3 separate regions of the Homo sapiens genome follow, and regions 1 and 3 are each linked to region 2. The links are contacts of gene promoters, found by promoter capture Hi-C in human tissues and cell types (Jung and others, 2019). All regions are on one chromosome and are shown on one strand. The core of a region is centred on a gene start or on the middle of the fragment in contact, and the rest is flanking DNA. Distances in the headings are between cores, read along the strand shown.

Evidence for each region. The method cuts DNA at HindIII sites, captures the fragments that hold promoters and counts their contacts. A contact is called where the count stands out against the background at its distance.
Region 1: a fragment that was not itself captured here is called in contact with the fragment with the promoter of RELT in region 2 in 1 of the 25 tissues and cell types used here (spleen).
Region 3: a contact is called between a fragment that was not itself captured here and the fragment with the promoter of RELT in region 2, in 1 of the 25 tissues and cell types used here (thymus).

What each region holds. Positions count from the first base shown.
Region 1 is chr11:72,447,155-72,449,854 of GRCh38, reverse strand. No RefSeq gene overlaps it. Among named protein-coding and RNA genes, the nearest start is that of CLPB, 14 kb to the right of the region's middle. The HindIII fragment of the contact is 4,196 bases long and covers 1-2,700 here.
Region 2 is chr11:73,375,136-73,377,835 of GRCh38, reverse strand. RELT (RELT TNF receptor) reads right to left here and starts at 1,437. Exons shown (of 11, transcript NM_152222.2): 1 at 1,337-1,437. RefSeq lists an enhancer at 458-752 and silencers at 918-997, 1,088-1,377, 1,408-1,717. The HindIII fragment of the contact is 25,019 bases long and covers 1-2,700 here.
Region 3 is chr11:73,930,609-73,933,308 of GRCh38, reverse strand. It overlaps PAAF1 (proteasomal ATPase associated factor 1), which reads right to left. Exons shown (of 12, transcript NM_025155.3): 12 at 2,195-2,700. Among named protein-coding and RNA genes, the nearest start is that of DNAJB13, 19 kb to the left of the region's middle. RefSeq lists a silencer at 437-687. The HindIII fragment of the contact is 4,129 bases long and covers 1-2,700 here.

The sequences.
Region 1 (2,700 bases), core at 125-2,624, 930 kb after region 2:
CCCCTTTGCTCGGTTCTCATTCTTCTCTCTCCTGCCGTCACGTGAAGAAGGACGTGATTGCTTCCCCTCCTGCCATGATTAGGTTTCCTGAGGGCTTCCCAGCAATGAGGAACTGTGAGTCAATTAAACCTCTTTCCTTTATAAATTACCCAGTCTTGGCTGGGCGCGATGGCTCACGCCTGTAATCCCAGCACTTTGGGAGGCTGAGGCGGGCAGATCATGAGGTCAGGAGATCGAGACCATCTTGACAGTGAAACCCCGTCTCTACTAAAAAAAAAAAAAAAAAAAAAATTAGCTGGGCATGGTGGCAGGCGCCTGTAGTCCCAGCTACTCCGGAGGCTGAGGCAGGAGAATGGCGTGAACCCGGGAGGCAGAGGTTGCAGTGAGCCGAGATCGTGCCACTGCACTCTAGCCTGGGCAACAGAGCGAGACTCCGTCTCAAAAAAAAAAAAAAAAAAAATTACCCGGTCTTGGGTATTTCTTCATAGCAGCGTGAGAATGGACTAATACAGTTGACCAAGCCTTGGCCAGGTCTGCATCACAGTTCAGTTTCTTCCTCTGCCCAATCCTGCTCCCTCCCGCTTCTCCTCACAGATATTGATCCCTAATAACCATCTTGCACCCACAGCTCTATCTCAGCTTCTGCTTCCAGAGAACCCATCCTGTGACAGGAGACAAAGTAGCTTGCTCCATCATCCAAGCAAAACAGATATGGGGTGGAGGGAAAGGAAAGAGTAGAAGTTTCATTGCCCACCAGAGGGCCCAGCCAGCACATCTATGGCCAGAGTTCACTCACTCGCCGTTCTATCAAAAATATGTGCTCTAGAATTACACTTGTCCCTTTGCTTTTTAAGGTTTTGTTATTTTGTCAGCATTCTAGTAAGGTTATATTTGAAGGCTGTCCAATATCTCAGATGAATGAAGAAGAAAAAAGAGTTTGTCTTATGCCTGTCCAGTTAGAAAGACTGGGAGCCTTCAAGCTTGGAAAAGGAGTGATGGTGGTCATCCCATTAGCTCTCAAGGAAGAGCCATCTGTGCAGCTGAGCATCTGGGAATTCCTTCCTGCCTGGAGTTTTCCTTCCTCCCTTTCATTTGTTTGTGCCTTTGGTTCAGTTATGTGAGAGTGCACCCTCGCACACATCACAGCTCAGAATGTATCATATTGGCTCAGCACTGTGTTGACTATACTTTCAATTCTTCTCTTCCTCCATACCTTAGGCAAACTTCAAGGATATCTATCACATGTGGATCTTTGTTTTTTCCTAGGAGCTGGGATTTTGTAGTGGTAAACAGTCTGGGCTTTGGATTCAGACCATTTGAGCCCCATTTTTGCCATTTACAAGCTAGGTGACCCTGGCCAAATTACTTAACCTTTATATATATATATATATACATATATTTTTTTTTTTTTTTTGAGACTGACATGCTGCATACTTCACTAGCAAGGCTGCTCCATTTTGGGTTTTTTGAATCTGTAAAGTGGAGAGAATCTCTTCCTCATAGGATTGTTGTTGGAATTAATGTAGCATAAGCAGCAAAAGCAGAGTCTTGCTCATAGTAAGCACTCAGTAAACACGTACACACATTTATTTGCCCATGAACAGACAGAGGGCTACTACCGAGAGACGCAGCTTTCAATGCCAGGGCTCATCCACCATCCCCACCCCAGGCCCCACCCTGCTCTACTAAGCTGGAGAGACGGAGAGAGGCTCTGATGCAGGAATCATTTTCATCTATCAGCTTTATCTATCAACATGAGCAGAGTGGACAGTTCCTCTGAGATCTGAATTATCACCTCCTGACCCAAAGTGCCTTCTCTGTCTTCTCCCTAGCACCAAGGCTGCAGAAAACAAGCAATGTGGAAGGAAGGAAGGAGAGGGAAATAAGGAGCAAGAGAGGGAAAGCAGTTGGCTAAGCTTTGTGCCCAGTTGGAAGAAGCAGAGTGGCAGTAGGCATGGGGTCTAGTAAAGGCTCGTGGAGCAAAGTCTTCATGATGAGTATAAGAGAAAATGGTTAAGTCATTTAGCCCTGGGTTCAAATTCTTGGTGCACTAAGTACTTGCTGGGAGAACCTAGTAAGTTACTTAACCCCTCTGGTTCAGCCTCATTATCCCCTCTTAGCCCCTCCCACTCTACACTTAATCCACACTGAACACTCAGTTCCTCAAACATGCATTGCCAAAAAAAAAAAAAAAAAAAAAAAGAATTGCACTCTTGCCTCTGCTCATTTGCCCGTAGGGTTCCCTTTACCTACAGTGACCCTATTCTCCAAGTGCCCCACCCTACATCAGCTACTGTAATCCCTTTCGTCTGGTCAATTCTAGCTCCTCCTGCAGAGCTCAGCTTAGATGTCACTTCCTTCAGGAAGCCTTCTCTGACCACTCGGCTTGCTATGTGCTCCCAGGGACACCAGAATTATCTCAATCGTGGCACTCACCACTCTCTGCTGACATGGCCTATTGTCTGCATGCCCCTCCAGAGCTCCATGGCTTCTTCATGACTACAGTTTCAGTAACCCATGCCTTACAGGTGCTCAATAAATGAGGCTGAATATTATTGAAACTTTGTAAGCTTTAGAGAGTTGGACAAAAGCCCAGCATAGGCATTGAATGCCAAATAATTTGTTGAGAAGAATGGAGTGGAGTGGAATGGAATGGAATGGTGAATATGCTGATTTTAATGCTATTTCACTGCATTATCC
Region 2 (2,700 bases), core at 188-2,687:
GCAGTCTTTCTGCCTGAAGGGAAGGGAGAACACAGGCAGTTGACCCAAAACAATAGAGGATCCCAAAGTGATGATTCACAGTCCATTCAAAGCCCAGCACCTCAGTGTGCAGATGGGGAGACTGAGGCCTGCGCGGGGGAGGGGGGCGGGGGGGTCTGAGAACAAGATTGTGTCCGGGTCCGCTGAGAATACAGATTACACAGGGGCAGAACTTTGCCAGGTGTAGGGACTTCGATGCGTGAGTGTGTGGATGCAGGTGGGCGGGGGGAAGCTGAGACTACCACAGGGCCCCTACCCTGCTGCCATCTGGGCCACCCCACCAGATGTTGCCCAGCCTCGGCTTTCTCCCTCAGCCAGGGCCTATCCCTCAGGGTCCATCTCCTCACCAAGCTGAACTCCTGAGGGGTGCCCTCGTGGGGACAGTCCTGGAGACCCTTGTCTCCTGGCTCCCCAACTTCCTCATCGCCCCACATCTGCCGGAAGGTGTCCTAGGTCCGGTCCCTCCTCCTCCTGCCTCTTACTCATCATCACCCTAGGCGCAGACACACACACACACACACACACACTGACACCACTTGACCCCACACGCACACCATGGCGCCAGCGAGCTCGGCTCGTTCTCAGTCACTTGGGCTCCTCTCCCTCTATTTCACACTCACAGTAACGGGTGGCCCTGGCCCTGCGCCGGTCACGCCCCAAGCCACGCACTTCGTGACCCCAGTGACCCCGGGTCTTTCCCTCACACAACACACGCACACACGCTGCCTGTCTCCCACACACAGAGCCCCTCTGTGTCGCCCGCTCGGCCCGGCGTCACCGCCCAGTGTCCCAGCCACACGTTCGCCCGGCCAGGCCGCCTCACGCGCCGTGTCACCCACAGTCACGGGCTGACACCATCCAGACCCCCCCTTGGCCGCCCCGCGCCGCAGCCGCGCCGAGGCGCCGCCGTCCAGCCCGCACCACAACCTGGTCTCGGTCCAAGTTTCCCGGGCCGGGGACCGCTCCGGGCCCCGCCGGCCCCTCACACCGCAAGTTCCGCTGCTTCCCCGCGCGCCCCCCGACAGCCACCACGCAGGGCCGGCCCGGAGTCGCGGCCGGAGGACCTGCAGGTCACGGGGCTCGGAGACTGGCGGTGGCCGGTGCGCGGAAGGCGCCGGGACAGGACGCGAGGCGGGAGGAGTGGGGTGGGGGGGCGCGCGGCCGGGCTGCCGCATCCGCCGAGCCCGCGAACTTCCTCAGAGACACGGGGAGGCAGGGGGCGCCACTAGGGTCCGTATCCCGCTGGCCCGGCCGCGGAGAGCAGACTCTGGATGGGCGCTCCGCGCGCCCTCCTTACCTGGCTGCGCCGCGGCAGCTCCAGCTCGGCTCCCCGTTCGACTCGGCGCCGCGGCCCGGCTCGGCGAGCGCCCGGACAGCCGCGCAGCCTGCGCGCCTTTTGAATGAATCGCCGGCTGGGCCGGGAAGGTGCGCAGACCCGCCCCCGCGCGTCACGGCCGCTCCGCCCCCGACGTCAGAGCGCGGTCTGCGCCCCGCGCCCGACTCACCCCGAGCCGCGGAGGGGCTCGCCGCTCTGCCGCTGGGCGGTGCTGCTCTACGTCGCCCTCTCTCGCGCCCCTGGGAACTGCAGGGGGCTGCGCGGGACTGGGCGGCGGTGCCCAGAGGGCCTCTTGTATCCGCCTCTTCAAGGCTCTGAACCAAGCAAGGAGTTGTGCGAAGCAAGATAAAGAGACTGGAGACTGAGATACTCCTCTGGGTCCTCTCAGCATTGCCAGTGTAACTAGAGCCACCTCTGCCCCTTTCTGGGCTTCATCTTCCTCCTGCCAGTTGGTGGCCAGGAAGAATAACCTCACTTTGCTTTGTTGACGAGGCCCAGGCCCAACCCTGGAAACCCTCACCTAGTTGGCGAAAAGGCCTGGTGAAGGTGAGTCTATAAAGGAAGCCCACACGGTGGGCTTCGGCACATCCTTCAAGGCCTAGTGAAATCCTCCAGGAGGCGTCTCCTGCCTCCACTCCCCTACTCCCCGCACCACTTCTCTGTGCCAGGGTAGTTAGTTTCCCTCCAGCAGGACAGGTGACTCAGTGCCCCCCTCCCTACTACAGCCATCCCACCCTGCCAGTTTCCAATGCCAGTCATCACAAACTCCAGGCAGTATTCACACTGTATTCCGACTCCGAATCGTGTCCCCTGGAGTTGTGCTACAGGGTGTGCCAGGACTGGAGGGAGCAGCTCAGTGGCCCGTTCCCCCTCTCAGTACTATTCAGGGGATCTCAGGCGGTCCTCCTGGGACAGTAGGGCTGATGGGAGACTGAGACACCAGGGAGGACCTAGTGCTGGGCCAGAGGCCTGGCTGGGGTCAGGATAATCACAGCCCATGACAGAGATGGAGAAAGGAAGGTAAATAAGTCAGCTGGGGATAGATGGCTGGGGGTGGGGTTCTAAACAGTCATAGAATCTGAACCCAGGGGCTAGGAGACGGAAAAGGTCAGGTCCCCAGGGTCCAGGAGATTCCAGGAGGCGAACTGGACACCGCATGGGGAGGGGAGCAGGGGATGAGTTTTCATTTCCCTGGGTCATGCTCAGGTTGTGGGGGAAGGGCATAAGGAGCTACAGGTCATTGATGTCAGGATCATGACATCAGCACCCTCATATGTCAATGGAGACCTCCAGGGCTGGGGCAGGGGTTCTTCCAGGGTCCCACA
Region 3 (2,700 bases), core at 196-2,695, 560 kb before region 2:
TGAACCCAGGAGGTGGAGATTGCAGTGAGCCAAGATCACGCCATTGCACTCCAGCCTGGGCAACAAGAGCGAAACTCCGTCTCAGAAAAAAATAAAATAAATAAAAAACAAGGACATGGAAAAATGAGAACCCTCGTACACTGCTAGAGAGGATGTAAAATGGTTACAGCCACTTTAGAAAACAGTTGGCAGCCCCTCAAAAAGTTAAATATAGGTACCATATGACCCAGCAATTCCACTGTTAGGTATATACCAAATAGAACTGAAGGCATATGTTAACGCAAGAACTTGCACATGAATGCTGCTAGCAGTGTATTTCATAGTAGCTAAAAAGTGGAAACAGCCCAAATGTCAGCCCATTCATCAACTGACGAATGGATAAACAAAATGCGGTATATCCATACAATGACATATGTCAGGTCTCTCCAGAGAAGGCGGACAAATAAGATGTGTACGTTCTGTTTTCATATAGATACGTGTGTGTATGTGTATATATACATAGAAAGAGAGAGAGACATTTAAGGAATTGGCTCACAGGAAGCTTGGCAAATCCAGAAACTGATAGAGTAGGCTGATGGTCTGGAGACTCAGGGAAGAACTGCAGTCTGAGTCCAAAGGCAGTCTGTTGACAGAACTTCTTGCTTGGGGGACAACAGTCTTTGTTCTATTAAGGTCTTCAACTGATTGGATGTGGCCGACTCACACTATCACACTATGGAGGGTAATCTGCTTTACTCAAAATCCCCTGATTTTAGTTTATTCATTTATTTTTTGAGACATGGTATTGCTCTGTTGCCTAGGCTGGAGCTCAGTGGTATGATCATGGCTCACTGAAGCCTCAACCTTCTGGGCCCAATCGATCCTCCTACTTCAGCCTCTTGAGTAGCTGGACTTGAGTAGCTTGCCTGGCCCCAAAATTCACTGATTTTAAATGTTCATCTCATAAAAAAAAAAATACCTTGAAAGAAACATCCAGAAAATTGACCAACCATCTGGGCACCATGGCCAGTCAAGCTGACACATAAAATTTACCATCACAAATGGTAATAAAGTAATAGAATGTAACATTTACATATTACTCTCAAATGAGTCAGAAAAAATATAGCATATATAACCTGTGTACATATATACAGAAAGAGAGTGATAAAGCAAACATAATAAAAAGTTGACAACTGGGCTGGGCACGGTGGCTCACGCCTGTCATCCCAGCACTTTGGGAGTCTGAGGCGGGCGGATCATTTGACGTCAGGAGTTTGAGACCAACCTGGCCAACACGGTGAAACCCTGTCTCTATTAAAAATACAAAAATCAGCCAGGTGTGGTGGTGCACCCTTGTAATCCCAGCTACTCAGGAGACTGGGCAGGAGAATTGCTTGAACCCGGGAGGCAGAGGTTGCAGTGAGCCAAGATCGCACCACTTCACTCCAGCCTGGGCGACAGAGTGAGACTCTGTCTCAAAAAAAAAAAAAATTCAACAACTGGGAGATTCGGGTGAGGGTGTACTGAAATCCTTGATGCTATTCTTTTTTATTCTTTTTATTATTTTTAAATATTTCTCATGTTTGTTTCCTATCCTTTGTACTATTTTTGCAATTTTTCTGCAAGTTTAAGGTTATTGGCAAAATAAAAGTTAAAATAGAAAAAGAACATAAAGTATATGCACAAAGAGTATTGTTTAGAAAAGAAATCTACCTATTGTGAGGCCTGTGCCTGGTACCAAGTACATGCTGAATAGCTGCTGCTGCTGCTGCCAGCTTTTCAGGTCTGGAGAGAAAGGTTATTTCTCATAAGAAGTCACAAGGGGGCATCCCAAAGCCAAGAAACACCATCTAGCACAGAAGTTCACTGAGTCTGTAGAGCTGTCGGTGTCCTACCGTTCCTTACCCAGAATGCACTCCTTAATCCTAAAGAAAAAAAAGAAAAAGCTTTGTCTGCTAAAAGCAGGGGCTCCTTCCTTTCACAGTGGACAAGGCTATGGAGCACCTGAGAGCTGGTCTCCTTTCCTTCTGTTTGGGTCTGGATTTCAGAGCAGCTGTCAAGGGTCACTGCATATATCACAACCAGGACATCGACTCTGGAGACGTATGAAAAGGAGCGGACGAATGTGGTGGCAATGTAGAAGAGTGAGCCCTGGAATGAGAACTCACAGACATTCACGTGTTGTGTGTACTCAGCCATATCCCTCCTTATCCTCTTTTCTTTTAATTGATTTTTAATTGTAAATGGACAATTTATACTTGTTTATAATTATGGGCCACAAAGTCCTATTGTGACTTATAAATACAATATGGAATAATTAAATGAAGCCAGTTAACATATCCATCACCTCAAATGCTTAACATTTTTTGGGTTGAGAACATTTGAAATTTACTCTTAGCAATCTACCATGCTATGCAATAGATCTCAAAACACAATATATTCCTCCTGAGACTTTGCACCCTATGACCATCATTTCCCCATTCCTCCTCCCCGAGTCTCTGTAACCACCATTCTACTCACTGCTTCTACATATATAAATATATATATATACATATATATATACATATTTTTTTTTTCTTTTTTGAGAGAGAGTCTCGCTCTGTTGCCCAAGCTGGAGTGCAGTGGTGCAATCTCAGCTCACTACACCCTCCACCTCCTGGGTTCAAGCAATTCTCCTGCCTCAGTCTCCTTAGTAGCTGGTATTACAGGTGCCCACCACCA